Linked DNA regions of Homo sapiens: region 2 is linked to region 1. Evidence: promoter capture Hi-C in 16 types of primary human blood cells and fetal thymus (Javierre and others, 2016). All regions are on one chromosome and are shown on one strand. The core of a region is centred on a gene start or on the middle of the fragment in contact, and the rest is flanking DNA. Distances in the headings are between cores, read along the strand shown.

Region 1 (3,379 bases), core at 880-3,379:
TAGAATGGGGACCAAACTAACCTCAGCTTCTGCTCCTCCAGAAGGCTGTTTGTGGGTTAAACTACTGGCTTATTACTCTCTCATTACATCCCACCCATTTCTCTGGCACACCCAAGTATGTCCGGACCCCAGAAATGGCAGAATCCTGGCTCAAGCTGAGGCAGACTTCCCCATTCCACAAAGGTGATGCGCGTTCATGCCAACCCTGGGCCAACGGGCCCGATGTAGAATCCCTGAGAACCCAGAGGCAGCAAGTTCACTGATGAGTCACAGCTGAATGACACCCAAGAGATAAGGGAAGAACTTCATTGTGAAAGAGCCCAGCAAACCTCTTAGGTTATGGTTGTTCTCACTCCCTATCAGCGTCACGTGGAGTTTTGCCAAAGGAAGGACTTAGTCATCAAACAGATCCTGCCAGTCATCTGGTGGCTCCTGGAGTGTGCCAACTGAGCCTTTCTATCCTCGTGGTCAGGAGAACGAGGCTTGTTAAGGACTCTTCTATTTATTCCATCTTCTTAGGACAAGCCATCAGCCCCTCTAGCAAGGCTGCCTGCTAGTCCATTCGGCACCTTTGTGCAAACTAGGAAGAAGGGATCCATCTGGGGGGATGGAGAAACAGCTTCCACAGCACAAGTCCTCCAGAGCAGACAGGAGACGGAAAGTATGGCACGTCACGGCCATCATGACCTACCTTTTACATGTGGGGAACAAGCCCAGAGAGGGCGACGAACTCGCCCAGGGTCTGTAAGTCGCTGGTTTTTAAAAAGTAGAGCTCGAGTCTCCTGAAGCCCAGCCCATGTTCCTTCCCCTGATCCAGTGTGTGATAAGCAGTAGCTTCATGGCCCCATAGGAGGGAGGCCTTCCTTCCCCAGGGCGCAGAGCAAGCTCAAGGACAGACAAACTCAGAGGGATGTCTTCTCTCTCACTGTTGTACTTACCCATGTCAGAGAGAGACATCATTTCTGAGTCTCAGAGGGGCTGATGACATAAAGGTGAGGCCTAAATGGAGGCAGGTGACTAACAATGTCTTCAGTTCATTCCCCGCATCCCCAACCACATGGGGAGTGCCGCTTTTGCCCGCCTGCGACAGTGGTTCTCAACATTTGCTGTGCCCCGAAATAAAAACAGATTGTGGGCCCCGCCCCCAGAGCTGTCGATCCAGTGGGTCGGAGGTGGGGCCTGAGCACTTGCATTTCCAGCAAGTTCCAGGGTGATGCTCACGTTGCTGGCCTAGGGACCACACTGAGAACCACTGTCCTAGAAATACGGTCAACCCACCCTTTCCTCCCTCACCTTCTTCACTCTCTTCCTCCCCTTCTCCGCCTGTTTCTCCTTTTCCGCTTCCTCCAATTCCTCTCTGGTCCTCTTCTCACCTTCCAATCAGCTGGCTCTGCCACTGACTGGATGCCTGACTCGGGCAAGTCACCTCCCGTCTCTAGGCCCGAGGAGAGGCAGTCGGCTAGGCCGAGATGCCCCTGCCCGGCTCCCCCCTCGCCAGGGCGCTCGGCCTGGGCTCCCCCGTATCCCAGATCCTCTGTGCAGCTGTGGCCGAGATGCCCCTGCCCGGCTCCCCCCTCGCCAGGGCGCTCGGCCTGGGCTCCCCCGTATCCCAGATCCTCTGTGCAGCTGTGGCCGAGATGCCCCTGCCCGGCTCCCCCCTCGCCAGGGCGCTCGGCCTGGGCTCCCCCGTATCCCAGATCCTCTGTGCAGCTGTGGCCGAGATGCCCCTGCCCGGCTCCCCCCTCGCCAGGGCGCTCGGCCTGGGCTCCCCCGTATCCCAGATCCTCTGTGCAGCTGTGCTGGGAGGGAGCTGCTGCGTGAATGAGATCATCCTCCAGCTGCCCTCCAGCCCCGACTCTGGGATTCTGACCTCTCCTTCCTTCCACGTCTGAGCTTTTCTCTCTCCAGTTAGACACGGTATCTGGAGTCTTTCTAGGGCGCGAGGAGGGGAGGATACCCTGGAACGCGGGGTAGGAGGCTGAGGCGAGAGCCCCGAGCAGCGGCGCCCGGGCCCGAGCGGGAGGCCTCCAGCAGGGGGCGCGCCGGGGCCGCCCAGGGGCGGGGTCCGGGGTCGGCGGGAGGTGACCTGCGCCCCAGGGGCGTGGATTCCGCCCGGGAACTCGCGGCCGCACTTAAGGAGCTCGGGCCAGCGCGAGGGGGAGCAGGGAGGAAGCCCGGCTGCTGCGGACCTCCTCGGACCCGGACCCAGCCCCAGCCCGGCCCCAGCCAGCCCCGACGGCGCCATGCGGGGTCCGAGCGGGGCTCTGTGGCTGCTCCTGGCTCTGCGCACCGGTGAGGCCCCGCTGTGAGAGCCAAAGGCGGGCGGGGGTCCCGGGGCGCCGCGGCCCGGCTGAGCAGGTCCCGGGGCTGGAAATGTGCCTGAGCCTGCGGCTCCGGGGCAGTGAGACGGGGGAGGCAGGGGCTCGGGGTCGAGTGAGGACGGCGGAGGGAACTAGCACTGAAGCGCAGACGGGGAAGTCTGGAAGGCTTCTTGGAGGAGGCGGCCTCGAACACCCGAGGCTTCCGACGCTCCAAGGAGAAGCGCGGGCTGAGGCGTGGTGGGGAGGCCTCGGGGTGTGGAGAGGAGCTCCCGGAGGGCGGCCCCTCCCGACGGGCGCAGGAACTCAGGAAGACTTTGGGGGCTCGGAGCAGCTCTTTCTCCCGAGCCCCCGCGGGAGAAGATTCAGAGGGACTGACCGGCAGGCGCGGGAGTCCGCCCGGGGGTTTCTGGCACATGCAGGGATGGAGGTGGAGACGGAGGCCGGGTCCCCTCGCGTCGGCGCCCCGGGGAGTCAGGGCCCGGGATGGTGGGACGGGAGGCGGGACCTCGGGGAGCGGCTCGCGGGGATCGCGGGCGGCGACCGCCGAGGGGATGGAGTTCGTGGCACCGCTGTGGCCGCAGGCGACGCACTCATCAATGCAAACGATGAAGCCACCGCCACCCCCGCCCCGTCTGAACTTTGCAGTTTCCCGCCTGGGTGGTGGGGGGCTTGGAGCGCTGCGGAGGGGAGGGCAGTTCGACTTCCCAGGCCTCCGCCAGGAGTGGGGAGGGGAGGGCTGTGGCGGAAGCTTCAGTCTCGGCCCTTGGGCTGGTGGGGCTGCCACGGGAGGGTGACCTGGTTTCGGGCGGAGTCATGCGTTTCCCTCCCTCCTGCACAGGCCTCTGGCAGTGCTGGCTGGGGCAGGGTGAATGGCAGAGGAGCTCAGGCCTGAAAGTCATCGGCCCCAAGGGGCTCCAGCACCCCTTCCTCTGGGCCCCTAGCCTGGGAGCTCTCGGGGACTCTGACCCGGTCAGATCCTGAGGCATAAGCAGAAGTCCACTGAGGATGTGGGTGTCTCAGGCTCTCTACAAGGGGGTTTACTTTCAACACAGAAGGTG
Region 2 (2,700 bases), core at 201-2,700, 510 kb after region 1:
AACAGCTCACATCTGTCCAAACTCCTTACCAAGCTAGCTAGAAGCATCCCCTCTCTTATAAGCCTTATGTGCTGTCTCCCTGCTAGTATGTTCCTTGAGGACAAGGATTTCGCCTTACTTATCACTATATTACCAGTGCCTGGAATAGTGCTGCTCATCCATTCGTAGGTTTTATACATTCAATTAATATCTATGATGCTCAGTAAATATTGAATAAGTGAATAAAGTATTCAGTGAAAGAACAAATACGTGACATGGCTCTTACCAGTTTAAATGGTGTGGTTATTTTCTTTTTCTTATATGAATCTTTTGCTCAAAACATACCTACTCATTGTTTCCTGAACACATCATTTACTTTGCCACCTCTGTGATTTTGCTCACACAATTTCTCCAGTTCGTAACACCCTTAACACTCTTCTCTGATAATCAAAGACCTTGACCTTTAAGGCCAAGCCAAGTACCACCTTCAGGGTGAATATCTCCCCAAGGACCCAAGATTTCAGTGACTTAGTCTCTCACCTTCTATTATTTTTATGGTCTCTATCTACTTAGCACACATCCCATATACATTTTCTATTTAAGGATATATTCTTTCTTCCCAACTAGATTTTAAATCTCATGAAAACAGCAGTCCTATTTTATTTCCACATTTATATTCAATTCCTAATCTAATATATATATAATTATATAAAATTATATATATATTTTATATACGATATAAATTATATATTATATATAATTATATGTATAATTTTATATATAATTATATATATATATATATATATATATATATATATATATATATATCCTATCCTCTTGCCCGGGCTGGAGTGCAGTGGCATGATCATAGCTCACTGCAGCTTCGAACTCCTGGGCTCAAGCAGTCCTCCCACTTCAGCCTCTTGAGTAGCTGGGACTACAGGCATGCACCACCACTCCTGGCTAATTTTTGTATTTTTTGTGGAGACAGTCTCGCTCTGTGGCCCAGGCTGGTCTTGAATTCCTGGGCTCAAGCAATCCTCCCACCTTGGCTTCCCCAAGTGCTGGGATTACAGGAGTGAGCCACCATACCCAGCCATAACAAGTATTTAGTAGTTTCTAATGATAGTTAGATTTTTTGCTTTGATATCATCATCATAAAAGATCTGGGGCACTCTTCAAACCTAATTTAGGTTGTAATTGAATAATGAAGCAGTTAAAATATGACAGTAATATTTCCATCAAACTTAATCCTATACGTTACGTTAATGTATCTGTATATACATTTACCATAATGTACACAGTCATTAATTATACATGGTTGTTGCTGTATGTTAATGTACTATGGTTCAGTTTTCAAAGGCAAATGTTATAGTGCATTCCAGGACACCTGTGTCCACGAGATAAGTTCTTTGAAACTATATTTGGATCTGCAGGCTATTAAAAGCTTCTTGTACTGAGTGACCTTTCAGGCAGAATGTAGACTGAGCGCTCCTGCTACTGCTGCCTGTTGCTGAGAGGAAGACCGCAGAAAATTCTGGATTCAAACATTTATTGCTTTTTTTGTTTTGCTTTGTTTTTGTTTTCTTTCCTTTTGCCTTCAGAAGATGAACAATGAAACCACAACCCTGATATCCTTGAAGGAGGCAATGAAAAGGTTGCTGAGGGCTATAGGGAGGGAGCAAGCATGGGTCTGCTATTCTGGGAAGATGGGTAAGAGAAGAATGAAGAATAGAAATAAAGAACTGCAGACATGCTCATTAGAATTCTGTCTCTGTGGCCGGTGCGGTGGCTCACACCTGTAATCCCAGCACACTGGGAGGCCGAGGTGGGCGGATCACAGGGTCAAGAGATTGAGACCAGCCTGGCGAACATGGTGAAACCCTGCCTCTACTAAAAATACAAAAATTACCCAGGCATGGTGGCGGGCGCCTGTAGTCCCAGCTACTTGGGAGGCTGAGGCAGGAGAATCACTTGAACCCGGGAGGTGGAGGTTGCAGTGAGCCGAGATCGTGCCACTGCACTCCAGCCTGGCAACAGAGCAAGACTCCGTCCAAAAAAAGAATTCCGTCTCTATTACAGTGGTTTAAGTCTTCCAGGCCCAAACCTATGTAAATTAACAATAAAGAAAAGTCTGCTCCCAGGTGCTGTAACTCCATTGAATGTATGCATATGCTAAATCCTAGATTTACAAAAATAAGTAAAATGTGGTTTCTGCCCTCAAGGAGCTCACAGCCTGTAGGAAAGAGAAAAGTTTGAAAAACATTTACAATTTAATGTGACTGACCTTACAATGGTGATGTTCCTAAAGGTCTATGCGAACATGAAGGGAGGATCAACCAATTTTGCCTTTGACACTAGAAAAAGGAACTCTTCATATAGGGTCATTTAAGCTGGATCTTAAAGTGCAAGTAGGAGCTTATGAGGGAGAAAAATATGGGAAGGCATTCTAGGCTGAGGAAACAGTGCATATAAGCCATATGTAAGCTTGGAACCACATAATGTATTCAAGCAGCAACTAGATGTCTCGTGTAATTGGTAACTAGGATGGGTGAGGGGACTGGTGGAAGACAGGAGCAAAGGGTGAAGGCCCTTGACTTTCCTGCTGAGGAGATCCAGTTTGCCTCTGAGTATATCACTGGGCAAGCCAGGATGACATAAACCATTTGTAATCAGTTGAGTCACAGAATCGGAATTGTGTTTTAGAAGAATGTGTCTGGA

Evidence for each region. The method cuts DNA at HindIII sites, captures the fragments that hold promoters and counts their contacts. A CHiCAGO score of 5 or more calls a contact.
Region 2: a contact is called between the fragment with the promoter of SMCO1 here and the fragment with the promoter of MELTF in region 1, in 9 of 17 cell types (total B cells, monocytes, fetal thymus and 6 more). The highest score is 12.2, in total B cells.

The regions. Positions count from the first base shown.
Region 1 is chr3:197,028,567-197,031,945 of GRCh38, reverse strand. It overlaps MELTF (melanotransferrin), which reads left to right and starts at 2,129. Exons shown (of 16, transcript NM_005929.6): 1 at 2,129-2,292. The coding sequence starts at 2,244. RefSeq lists enhancers at 114-408, 1-712, 1,100-1,736, 1,737-2,373 and silencers at 1,907-2,396, 2,447-2,496, 2,687-2,866. The HindIII fragment of the contact is 6,273 bases long and covers 1-3,071 here.
Region 2 is chr3:196,514,096-196,516,795 of GRCh38, reverse strand. It overlaps SMCO1 (single-pass membrane protein with coiled-coil domains 1), which reads left to right and starts at 1,450. Exons shown (of 3, transcript NM_001077657.3): 1 at 1,450-1,636. The coding sequence starts at 1,587. The HindIII fragment of the contact is 1,040 bases long and covers 1,429-2,468 here.